3 separate regions of the Homo sapiens genome follow, and all the other regions are linked to region 2. Evidence: promoter capture Hi-C in 16 types of primary human blood cells and fetal thymus (Javierre and others, 2016). All regions are on one chromosome and are shown on one strand. The core of a region is centred on a gene start or on the middle of the fragment in contact, and the rest is flanking DNA. Distances in the headings are between cores, read along the strand shown. Region 1 overlaps OLFML3 (olfactomedin like 3). Region 2 holds the start of SYT6 (synaptotagmin 6). Region 3 has its middle 20 kb from the start of OLFML3.

Region 1 (4,070 bases), core at 1,224-3,723, 170 kb after region 2:
CTGGCTTGCTGTTAATAAATATGTGGGTAAATCTCTGTTTGAGGCTCTCAGCTCTGAAGGCTGTGAGACCCCTGGTTTCCCACTCCACACCTCTATATTTCTGTGTGTGTGTCTTTAATTCCTCTAGCGCTGCTGGGTTAGGGTCTCTCCAACCGAGTTGGTCTTGGCAGTCCTGGAGAGGTATGGTCAGAACCCAAGTTCTGGGGAGATGGTGCTGAGAGTTTTGCATTTTCACTTCTCACTCTGCCCTTTAAAGTAATACATAGGCTTCCACATTTATAATTCTGTGGAGTTATTAAATCCAGAAATAAAGCTTTACTCTTTTAAGCTCTGCATTGTAAAAGCAGAAGTTAAAGACCAGGCAAAGGAAAGCTCACCAGCCAGGCTGAGGGGTCCACAGGGCCTGCAGAGGCCACAGCTGCTAACAGGAGCTAAGGCCACAGGACAGACCCTACTTTCCAGCCGGAGAAATAGAAAAGTTCTCCTGGACCACAGACCACACTAAACTGCAAAGGCAGACACAGAGAGGCTGGGTGGCAGGCCCTGAAGAGACCTATCCTGAAGGCCCTGAGAAATACCAGGACAGTCTCAGCAGCTCTCAAAATGGGCATGCTTTCCTCTAAACCAGGTAGAGGAGTGGGGAGCAGTGGAAGGGGATGCCCCCAGGAGCCTTGGGGAAGGGGTGCCTGTTCAAGGAGAGATGAGAAGAGGCCCAGAAAATCTGAGACTGGAGGAGGAGGAAAAGGAGGGCTTGGTTTCTGTTTAGCTCAGAGCCCATCCCAGAGGAAACATTGACAGCTGAATCAACAACTTCTTCCTGTCCATCTCTGCCCTGTCCCTCTCCACCATCCAGGGCGCTCACAACACCGGCTCAGCTTCCTTGATTAAAATGAACAAGACAAACACTTTGGATTCGCTGGCAGGCAGATACTAAGACCAGCATTGGAGAAGAGAGGATATTGAGAACAAGGAGGGGAGCTTAGGAAGTAAAGCAGGAAACCCTGAGGCCCAGTGTGGCGGAGAGGGGAGCCCTCTCAATACTGCCTTGGGGGAGCCCTCTCAATACTGCCTTGTGATGGAGAAGCAACATCTGGACCTAAGACCTAGCAGACAGCTGCCTCCACCACAGCAGCCCCTCCTGGTTCTTGGTGCCCTTCCCACATCCCCATCCTTGGGTGTTTACTGTACCACCCAATGGCTAGGCACTGGGGCATATGTGGGACTTCTCTTTGGGCTTTTAACCCCTCTCTCCTCTACTAGGCCCTTTGCCTTCCACTGTCTTTTGTTCAACAAAATCAGAGGTCATAACCTATTTCTGCCAAGTGATGGGTTGTGGAGGGTCTGATGGGGGTCTGAGGCTACTTGTGGATGATAGGATTTAGCTACCGGTGCTGTCTCCTGGAGCAGCAGATAATTTAGTTTAATGAATTTGGACAGTTCACTGGATCTGCCCACACAGTTCTACTCACCTTCCATAATGCTTCCAAAATAGCACTAGCTGTTGCACAGGAGCCAAAAAGAAGGAAGAGAAAAGTAATAAACGACAAGGCCCCAGAGATTTCTGCCCTTTCAGAAAAGCCTGAATGAACTTTTCCACAGAAATTGTAAGCCAAAAAAAGATATGCTTTTTTTCTTTCTCATGGAGGAGGAATCAGGCAAAGATAGATGCCACAAAGACAAGCACACACATGCAACGCGGAAGAACCTGGTTACCTGATTTTCATGGAAGTAATAAGGCGTTAAGAATGTACTTCAAATACATATTCCTTGACGTCACTTATACACACGGAGTCTCAGGTTATGCTCTCATCAAGGGCATCAGAGCCGCTCCTGGTGTTTGGTGCTCTAACAAGGTAACTCCAGAGACACGGCCTGACCCTACAGCCTCCTATCACACACTCATACAGCCACACAAGCTAGCAGACAAGCTCCCCTGCCACATGCAGGCACATATACACATACACGTACACATACGCAGTCACACTAGGGAGCAGACAAGCACCTCTGCCACACACAGGCACCTCCCACCCCCAACACACACACACACACACACACACACAGTCACGCTAGGGAGCAGACAAGCTCCCCTTCCACATGGGGCACCCACAGTCCCCACACTGCTCTGCCAGCCGTGTGGCCCAGACCCCATTCTCCAGGCCTGTGCTCAGAATGCCCTTCCCCCTCAACCCCTCCCTGTGCACCACGTGTGCCGCAGCCAGCTGTTCTGTGGGCAGACCCTTCCGTGGGCTGACAGGTGGTGATTACTGTTGCCAGCCCCACATTAGGAGAGAATTCAATGGGAGAGAGCCCCTGCCCGCCCCGGTCTCCCTATAATAGCGCCTTTCTGAGGTGCTTCACTGTCTTTCTTTCCCCATCCTCATCAACCTACGTCTGGAGCAGCTCTGCCTGAGGAGAAAAGAAAAGAAGATAAAGGGAGGCTCACAGGGCCCTGACTGAGCCACCCCACCTGGGGCGGGAAGGAGGGCTGTGCTTTGGGGAGAAGGCTGTGCCCCCTTCCCGCACTTGGCTAGAGCAAATAACCAAGAGGACCCCCAGGCATGCCTGAGGTGGACTCCTCATGAAAGCAGTGGATCCTGCCCATCAGCCAGCCTTGCCCCTGCGAGCTGAGCATGCAGCAGTGAGGGTGAGGCTGGGGTGGGGGCCTGGTGCAGAAATCAGCAGATTCCTGGAGACTGGAGTCCAAAGCCTGGAGCCTTCCTCCTCCTCTCCCTTCTCCCTTCCCTCTTCCCCACATTACGCTCTGCAATCCAACGCCAGAGGCCAGGGTATGGGCCAGAGAGGGTTAAGTTTCCAGAAGTCCTGACGGGCTTCAGCCAGGTTCAGGGCTGGAGTGGGTAGGTGAGGGTGATGAGAGTGGAGAAAAGGAAAGCAAGAATAGGCTGCAGACCGTGTAAGGCCAACATCTGGGACACGGTCACTGCCCCTCCTCCCTGCACAAACCGCAGACGCCGTGGCAGCAGGAAAATCAGAGCGGTCCAGACCAAGAATGATTGTGCAACCTGGCCCTGCAGGAGCACAACGCTGGAGGTGGGAGTGGAGGTCTGGGGTGCGGGGCAGAGTCCACTTTAGAGGGGAGACTTCAGTTCTTACTAAAAACACAGGCATTCAGGGCTCTGGTTTCCACACTAGAATGCAATGCAACTAACATGCATTTTGTAGTTCAAAATCCTCTGAGAATCGGAACTGGAATCTCTGCCCTGGGCCCCAGTGTCTCACAGCCAGAGGCACGGTGCCACTGAGGTTCTAGGATGGCTGCTGTGGATTGGCTGCTGTGGATGGCGGTGGGTGTGGAAGGAGGCCTTTCGTCCAGCCTCCTAAAGTGGCGGGATTCTGCCACCTCCCCCAGGCGCCTCACAGTAAACTCTTCCTCAGCAAAGGGAGCCCCGCCCAAGTCTTTAATATGGCTCAAGGAGTGGGGATGGGTTGGGAGGGAGAAACTGGATGGTCAGGGGGAAGTTTGATCTGAGGGCTACCCCAAACAAACACAGGAGAGGAGCAGTGGATTTTCCTTTTAATGCAAAATGTTGCAATACAAAACAATGTGGAGAAAGTCCTGTTCCTCAGGACACTGAAGGGAGGAGTGAGGAAGAGAGGACAGAGCTGGACGTCTCCTCCTATTTCTCCCTCCCCAAGTCACTCTGAGGGGAAGAACACTGCTGCCTGCTCCCTGGGCCTGCCCGCATACAAGGTTAGAGCCCTGGGTCTGGGGCATCCTTAGCCTGAAATTTGTTGACATGGGGCAGGAGAGCAGGAGGGAACATTGAGGGTTTTGACTCTTCGGGCTCTAAAAGGATTACTCAGGATCTGGAGTTCCGTATGAAACAAAGGAGCTGAAAGAATTTGATTGCCATTGGCTAAAAATATAGAGGATTTGAGCCACAACTGGCCCACATTTGAAGAATGAGGAACAAGAAATTTAGTGGGGATATAATATAAATGTATGGGAGTGAGAAAGATGCAAAAAACAAGGCTAGCTCCTCAAACCTCCTCCTCTTTCTTCCTCATCTCCAGCTTATAGACAATCTGGTAGCCATCATCCCAGGCATAGA
Region 2 (4,309 bases), core at 1,810-4,309:
GGCTGCCTCCCTCCTCCCTTTGCCCCAGCCTCCTCTTTTCTCCCTCATGTAAAATCCTAGAGTGCTGTTGCTGGAAGGAGCCTCAAAGAGCTCCTAATCCAACTTCACATAGGCACACTGAGCCCCAGATAGGGGATGTGACAGCCTCGTGGCTGCTTTGGTGCACCAGCCCTGAATCCCAGCCCTCCCAGGCCCTGTCCAATGTACTTATTTGCCACCACTCCATGCTTAACTGTCTCTGCTCCTGCTTCTCTCCTCCCCACCCCTAAACCCAAACTCAGAATGGGATTTCTCTGAGAGATAGAATTGAAGGGCAACAATTCCACTTCTTTCCACCTCTTTCCCTCTCTGGGTTTGAGTGGGACCCTGGATCCTCCCTCCCAGCTCTTGGTGGGACCCTGGGACTCTGAATTTTATCTCTTCATATGGGAAGAAGCAAAGGTGTGTTTGGGGGTTGGGTTTGCAGGGCAAAGGGGTTTGAGAGACAAAAAAGTTTCCATCATTACATGAAGAATTTTTCTGCTTTGTGGCTGGTTATGTGACCACAGTGGTATCAGCAATTGACCTGGGGGCTGGGGGAGGTAGCGGGCTAAAGAGGACAACTAGGGTGAGGCTTTACCTTAATGTCTCCTTCTGAATGTGTGTTTCTTTACCTGTACATCTGTCTCCCTGTCTGTTTCTCTGTTCTCTATTTCCTATAACTGTCTCTCTGTATCTCTGTCTCATCCTCTGTCTCTCTCATTTGTATCTGTCTCTTGCCTCTATTTCTGTCTCTGTTTCTTTCTCTCTGTCTCTCTCATCTCTGTCTCTCCCACACACGCTAACTCCTACAATCCAACTTCAATAGCTATTGACTGACCCAGGGGCCCTAACCTGTTTCTGCAGCCCTATCAGGGCAGCAGCTCCTTCACACTGCTAGATTGAGAAATGCCAGGTCCGGAGCTGCTGCCGGGGCGCCAGAGACGCTGCAGAAGCGCCTGCCGAGTGTGGAGGCTGAATCCAGGAACAATGAGAAATTATCTGTTAATTCTCGGCTCCTGCCACCTGCTCTGCTCCAAACAAGCTCCTTTGCCTTCAGTTTAGATGCAAATTCCCCCACTCGATGTAAGCAAAATATTGATTTCCCTGCATCACAGGTCTGGGCCCTTGGAATGGTCCTGTGTTTTTTCATTCTCTGCAAAGGCAAAACAAGGTGCTTTGTTCTGTGAATTTCCCCCAGGAACTCGCGAGGGGGAGGGAGAAATAGCAGGGGAGTGACAGAGTTGCCATAAACACGGGCAAAGAGCAGTTCTCCATTTGTATTTTACATAAACACAAACCTGCCACTTGGGAAACTGCTAATAAGCGTTTAGCCAGAGGCTCTTCTGGGTGCTGAGATCTGCATCGGGTGATGGAAAAGAAATTAATGGGGCCTCTAGGCTCCTCAGGTGGGTTTTCAGAAGCACCAGGAAGGCGCATAGGGATGCCAGAGCCCCACTTGTTCTTGGAACAGCAACCAAACACCTCCAGCAGGAAGGCAGCCCGGATTGCACAGTATCGCCTGCGTCGTGTCTGCTTGGTCCCTGCCTGAGTTCCTAGCCTTCTGCTATCACAGGCACAGGGGTCAGGGTGGAAGCTGCGAACCTTCAACAATTGCCTCTCCCTCGTCCCCTAAACTTATGCCCACGCGATGGTAGCACCAACTGGGTCTTCAGCACCGTGGACAGAGCCAGGGGGCGCCTCACGGTGGAAAAGCCGCCTGGCTGGGCCAGGGTCCTCACAGGCCTTGCCTTAGCCCTTGGTGCCCCAGGCACCAGCTGCTAGGGGATCGCAAGTCCAAGGGCCGGTTGGCACAGATGGCGCGCAGTGGAGACCGCCAGGAGCTAAGGCTCCGAATCTCCTCCCTCCGGAACGTGAGTCACTGCCCGAGTCACTTCCAATAAGCGTGTTAATTAAGAGGCAAGACCTTTCTCCCTCGCCAGCCACTCGGGCATACACCAACCCAGCAGCCTCCAGGGGCTGCAGCTAAAGCTTCCTTCCCAGCTCCGGGAGAGCAAATGGACCTGAGTCTGGGGCTTCAGGCGAGCCCCACACAGAAGGGGCCCCACCGCCGACAGGTGTAGATCAAGAGACTCCCGAGATAGGCCCCTGCAGGGCGCTGGTCCCCCGGCCTCCCTGACCATGGCTCACAGACTTCCAGCGCTGAGTGAGGCAGCTCGAAGCCTCTCAGCCGATCTGTTCCTGGGCCTCACTCCACAGTTTCTGAGGGGATCTCTACTTTAAGTCTAGCCTCAATCCTCCCGTTGAGCTTTCTGTCTTTCTTGTTATGCTTAGCAGAAAGATACATGATCTCTGGTGCTGTTTCACCGAAGCAAGGAGGTGGGTCGGCGGAACTGAGCGCCCTGCGCCCTCTTGAAATGACCCCCCATTCCTGTTTGCCAGAAACTTTTCCCTCCCGTTGCCATGGAGAGAGACGGCCGCTGCCTCCCGTCGCCATAGCAACATGCGGGTACCGCGGACCGCAGGATTGCGGAGCTCGGAAAGTCTTGCAGTTCGCATCGCCCGCCTGTCTTGGGGTCTTCTACCTCCGAAGCTGGGACTCGGGGGCCAGTCTAACTGCTCCCGTCAGGAACCTCGGCCAAGGTCCTCCCAGACCCTGCCTGACCGTCGCTCTTTCTGTTACGGGGTTATCTATTTCTCTGTCATTCGTGTGGCATGTGGCAGTTTACCCAGTGTTTTCACAAACACGATCTTTCTATCCCCAGGGAGTCCGTGAAGTACTTAAAATCATTACACCTCCTTTACGGAGAGGAAAATTGAGGCTCAGAGACGCCCAAGGTCACACCAGGCAGTGAATGCGGAGTGGGAACCCGGACTCTTTCCTGGCCTTGCACCCTCCGAGATTCGGGACAGCCCGGCTTCCCGCCTCGAAACCCCCACCCCCCGGACTCAGGCCAGTCCCTGAGTGTAGAGGGGGCGGCCGCGAGGCGCCAGACTCGCCAGCTGCCGCGGGATGCCACGTGAGGGGCGGGGACCCTGCGGGGAAGTGATTAAAAGCAGAGCGGAGCCGCAGGGGGCCGCTGCAGGGAGGGTCTTCTTGGGGCCGTCGTGCCCCGCCCCAGTGCGGCCGGGGCGCGGGTTCGAGCTGCTGCTCGGCAAGCCTGGGTGTCTAGGGCATGAGCGGAGTGTGGGGGGCCGGCGGGCCTCGGTGCCAGGAGGCGCTCGCGGTCCTCGCCTCGCTGTGCCGGGCCCGGCCGCCCCCTCTCGGGCTGGACGTGGAGACTTGTCGGAGCTTCGAGCTGCAGCCCCCAGAGCGGAGTCCCAGCGCGGCAGGCGCAGGTAACGGGAGACCCAGGGCCCCCTCCCTTCCTGGATATCCGTCCTGCGATCTCCCTTCCCCAAAGCCCCGGTCCCAGGAGCCCCAGAACCTAGAGAGAACTCCCCAGCTCGGGATTCTGGATTGGGAGCCAGCCTCGTCCAGCCCTCTGGCCCATCGCTTGCACAGCCAGGAGAGACCCGAAGGGGAGCGGAGGTTGGGGTAGAAGCCCCCGGCCCTCCTGTATTACTACTGCGGAATGCGGGGGACCCCGCAGACAGCCAGGCTCCCAGGACGGGGCACCCTTGGGGCTTCAGTTTCCCTCGCATCTCCAAGCTCGCTCTGCGGGCGATTTGCCAGGAGAGGGGTCCATGGAGAGAGCGGGAGACGAGGGGCGCCCGGCTGAGGAATAGGGCTTGCCTCCTAGCGAGTGTCGAGGTCCCCGGGTCCGTGCGTCGGTCTGTCCGTCCGTTTGTGTGTTCTCGCGGTGAACGCGGGCGGACCCCCAGTCTCTCCGGGAGAAACTTGGGTCTGCGGCTGGCACGAGGTCTTTGTGTCCGGGTGTCTCTCCGGCTGCGAGTGGTTTTCCGCGTCTCCGCTGGGGGGCGGGGGACAGGGGGCGGGGTGGGGGAGGGTATGAGGGTGTTGCGGCGTCCTTCCCCCACCCCCTCTCGCCCCTATAACTCGCTCCCTCCGTCCCTCTCGGACTCGGACTCGGGGCCGGTGCGCGACTGAGCTGGCGCCTCTAGCCGACTTTGCCAAGAGGGCGCCTCCTGCCCGATCCGCGCTGACCCTGCGCGGGACGCAGCCCCAGGCGGCTGCCTAGCCGAGGCGGGAGCCCGAGCTGAGTCGAGCTCGCCGGAGCGGGTGAGTCCCGAGCCCGATCCCCGCCGGGCTGGACCCTGGCGCGCAGCTGCGGCGTCTCCGGGGAGTCGCGGCAGGGGGAATGGCGTGTCGCGCCCTGGCGGCGGGAGCTGCGGGAGGGTCGGCGACGTGGCGGCCGGCCCAGGGTAT
Region 3 (4,257 bases), core at 1,157-3,656, 150 kb after region 2:
TTGTATTTTTAGTAGAGACAGGGTTTCACTATGTTGGCCCATTTCTGGCAATTTCTACAGAAACCAGGTGAAGTACCTGGCCTTCCTCCACAGGTGGATGAACACCAACCCTTCCCGGACCCCCACCCTTCCTGGGCCCCCATATACCTGGTTTGGACCGCGCGAGGCCAAGCCTCCCAGGACCGCCTCAAGGTGTGTGCTGGGATCCCACGGCCCTGCGACAAGAAACAGCTGAAGGTTGTTTCTGCGGCCCTCCAGGTGGTATGTCTGAAGCCTACAAGAAAGTTTGCCTGCCTGGGGTGCCTGACTCACGAAGCTGGCTAGAAGTAGCAGGCAGTGACAGCCACCTGCAGGAGGAGAGGAAGGAAAAGGCCAGGATTTACTCAGGGAAGGAAAAGCAGCTCTTAAGGCCACAGAAACAGGCAGCAAAGAACATGGAGAAAACTGACAGATACGCAGAGGTCCTCAAGACCCATGGACTCCTGGTCTGAGCCCAATAAACACTGCTTATTCCCCCAAAAATAAATAATAAAATAAATAAACAACTAAACAAATCATCTTTTTTTTTTGGTTTTCTAACGTATATAAGTGTTATCTTTACAGTGTTATTTGTAGTAAACATAAATGGCCCAAAAAGAAGGGATCATTTGAGTTAATGATGGCATTTTTGTGTAGTGGAATGCTATGTAGCTAACAACAAAAAAACTTTTGAAGAAAAAATTATGATATGGGGGAAATTCTCATGCTATGTTAGTAATCTTTAAAAAGCATTTTCCCAAACATTATTTCTGATATTTCCAATGATGTAAAGCCAGAACAAAACAGAAGTATGTATTAAAAGTCTAGAAAGCTACATCATTGTGTGGTGGGTATATGGATAATTTTTTTCTTCTTCGTACTTTTCAGATTTCCTATAATTTACCTGTATTACTTCTCTAAATAGGGTATAAAAAGCAATAAATTGTCTTCCTAAAAGACAGACACATACTTTTACATGATATGTATGCTTTTAGAGCAAACATCACTTTGCCCCTGAGAAAAGGTCAGAGTTGGGAAAGGGCAGATGAACGCAAGACAGAGCCATTGACAATGAAAAATCAACTGTCAGGGCCGGCTACATAATTCCCAGGCCCTGTGCAAAATGGAAATAAGGAGTTCCTTTTTCAAAAATTAAGAATTTCAAGACAGCAACAGCAGAACATTAAACTAAGCTCAACCCCTTCTAAGTGCAGGGTTCTGTGCACCTGCACAGGCCACATGCCTAGGAAGCTGGCCCTAGTCACAAGTTTGAAGCAAGACACCCTGACCCAGCAGGTGAGGGTTTATAGACAGGTACACACCTGGAGGAGTTGACAGGAAGTCCCTCTGCCTCCTCACCTGTCACTGAGCAGAGTTTCATTCTTCATGAATTCAGCTTCCTAGCAATCAACCTTGGGAACAGGGACATACTTTATTACATATATATGCAAATCAGAAGCCAGCCCAGATTACTCAAACCCTAGATCAAAACCTCTTATTTTTTTTAAGGTTGGCTGCCTATTTATTCTATTTTAAGAATACCAGAAAGATGCCAAGCTATCTTCTACCCTGAAATTAATGACAATCCCTAACTAGAACGGAATATGGGATTTTAAAAAAAAAAAAAGATTTCTGATTATTTTCTCTCTAGACTCATCAAGAACCCTGACTTGCAGAGAATTATGGTCTTTCTCTGGTCCAACATCCTTTTTTTCCAGTTTCTTCTTTTTGGGTGCAGAAAGAAAATTCATTAACAAATTCACTACAGAGCATTATTCATTTCTCTTGTCTCGCTCAGGGGTTTTTAATATCAGGAGGTATAGTAAATCACCCCTGAGTAGTGATCACATGCGTTGGAGATCTAACAAGGTCCACAGAGCAGCCCTCCTGCTAATAAGCAAGCACAGATAAGATTGGAAGAAGCATGTTGATTCCTCTCTTCTAAGGGGGAGCAAACTCATTACCTAACCCTTGGATTAAATTAGGTGCAAAGCAAATCTCTCCCTTTGCAACCAGTCACAGCAGCTGCCTGCCACAGAAATGCAAACAAATCAGATACAAACCATAGCCAGCCACCTGCCTGAGCCTGAGTTGGTGAAAAATGGTTGCAGAATTGCTTAGGCAGAAACGTGCACACTAAACTTCTGCCTCTAACTTCTCCAGGAGACTTCACCGGAAGCCAAGTTAGGGGTGGGCGGAATGAGGCAGAGCCTCACTTCTACTCCGCATCCCGATGGCCAGGAGAACCCCTCTTGTTTTCTAATTGCAGCTTGTGGAGGATTGCCACATGGCCAGCCATTCCGGTGTCTTTGAACCTCTTCCCTTTTTGACCTGACCTCTTTTTTATATTGCTAAAAAATATAAACAAAATTTGAATGTTGGAAAATATCGAGAAGGGCATCTAGTTCTACTCCTCATCTAATGCTTGCATTCTCTGTACAGCTGTGCCCAACATTCATTCAGCCTTTGCTTGAACACCTCCAGTAACAGGGAACTCACTACCACCAAAGGTAACACAAAACATTTTGTCATATGGCTGACTGTTCTTCCTTTTGTTAAGTGGAACTTCTTTTTGTGTGATTTACATCCATTGAGCCTATTTCTACCTTTTATGGCCAGATCAAAAAGGGCCAGTACTGTCCCTTTGCCTTATGATGGCCTTTCTGCTACTTGAAGATACCACTCTTATTCCTTAGGTCTTTCTTTAGTAGGTGTTATTTTTCTCCTTTCTCTAAGGACATTGGCATGTAACTGAAACTCTTGGAGGCTAAGTTTTCTTATTTGTAAAATGAAGATCATATTATCTACCTCTTGGGATTGTTTTGGGGATTAAAAAGAATGCATGCAAGCATCTCACGGGAGCTGGCACATAGTAGGTGCCTAATGAATAGTAGCAGTTATGATTATCACCCTTACCTGGGACAGAAAAGAACATTGCTTCTTTGGCCTGACCAGAGCAGAATAACACAGGACTGTTTGCTCTCCTTCACACTAATGTGCTCCTACTAACGCAGCCTAAAGAGTATCATCATTTTGAGCAGCCACACCACATGGTACCTACTTATAGAAAACTTACACCAACCAACATCCTTAACTCTTTTCTGCTTCAAACCTATCATACAATTACAAGTAATTGTGAATTGGGAAGATATCTATCAAGTGCACATAGTAAGGCCTCAAAAAAAAAAAAAAAGCAGCTGCTAGTTGTTAGTAGTTGACAAATATTGTCCAGAAGGAAGAGAAAACGGAGATGCTGGCAATGAGAAGACTGGCTGTGGGTGCACTGCAGATTCCAGCGGCTCCTCGCTTCCTCTCTGCCATATTTCAATGATCTCTTACTGGCTTCACGCCAAATTCACATCCTGCTCTTCTCTCTTCAGACTCTGAACCACTTCCCATCCTCTTTCCCTCTGCAGTTCATTTACTATTCCCTTCTCAACAAGATTGGGATTTGTTCTGACATAAACTCTGTTTCCACTTGCTATCTGTCCCCTTGCTCTGAGCTCTGAGAAGCCTTGTCCCTTCTCCTTCCTCCTCTTCCTCCCTCCTCCTAAGCAAGCTCGTTTCATTCTCCTCTTTCTCCATTACATCTTTAGTCTCTGCCTAGCTCCTACCTTTTCCCTTAAAAAAAAATAAGTTTTCTTTTTTGTTATATTATTGTCTGGTGTTGGTATCAGAGTTATGCTAGCCTCATAGAATGATTACGAAGAATTCTGGCTGTTTCAATTTTTGGAATAATTTGAGAATTGGTATTAATTCTTCTTTAAAGGTTCAATAGAATTCAGCGGTACAGCCATCCAGTCCTGGACTTTTCTTTCTTGGGAGGTTTTTTAATTACTGATTTAATCTCGTTACTTGTTATTGGTCTGTTCAAGTTTTCTGTTTCTTTTTGGTTCAATCTGAGTAGGTTGTATGTGTCCAGGAATTTATCCACTTCCTCTAGGTTTTTTGATTTATTTGTGTGTAGCTATTCATAATAACCTCTAATGAACCTTTGTATTTCTGTGGTATCTGTTGCAACATCTCCTTTTTCATTTTTCATTATATTTATTTGGGTCTTCTCTTTTTTTTCTTAGTCTAGCTAATGGTTTGTCTGTTTTGTTTATCTTTTAAAAAAAAATCACATTTTTTTTCGAAATAGGGTTTCACTATATTACTGTATTGCCCAGGCTGGTCTTGAACTCCTGGCCTCAAGTGATCCTCTCACCTTAGCCTCCCAAGTAGAGAGGGATTACAGGC

What was found. Contacts are between HindIII fragments. The CHiCAGO score rates a contact against its expected background, and 5 or more counts as called.
Region 1: a contact is called between a fragment that was not itself captured here and the fragment with the promoter of SYT6 in region 2, in 4 of 17 cell types (M1 macrophages, M0 macrophages, M2 macrophages and 1 more). The highest score is 11.9, in M1 macrophages.
Region 3: a contact is called between a fragment that was not itself captured here and the fragment with the promoter of SYT6 in region 2, in 2 of 17 cell types (M2 macrophages and M0 macrophages). The highest score is 5.9, in M2 macrophages.

Annotation. Positions count from the first base shown.
Region 1 is chr1:113,981,699-113,985,768 of GRCh38, reverse strand. It overlaps OLFML3 (olfactomedin like 3), which reads right to left. Exons shown (of 3, transcript NM_020190.5): 3 at 3,516-4,070. The coding sequence ends at 4,000. Among named protein-coding and RNA genes, the nearest start is that of OLFML3, 4.3 kb to the right of the region's middle. RefSeq lists enhancers at 1,499-2,462, 3,718-4,070. The HindIII fragment of the contact is 4,315 bases long and covers 316-4,070 here.
Region 2 is chr1:114,152,619-114,156,927 of GRCh38, reverse strand. SYT6 (synaptotagmin 6) reads left to right here and starts at 3,059. Exons shown (of 8, transcript NM_001253772.2): 1 at 3,059-3,318. The coding sequence starts at 3,156. RefSeq lists a silencer at 47-341 and an enhancer at 1,271-1,884. The HindIII fragment of the contact is 4,368 bases long and covers 2,013-4,309 here.
Region 3 is chr1:113,997,667-114,001,923 of GRCh38, reverse strand. It overlaps the pseudogene RPL13AP10. Among named protein-coding and RNA genes, the nearest start is that of OLFML3, 20 kb to the right of the region's middle. The HindIII fragment of the contact is 8,622 bases long and covers 1-4,257 here.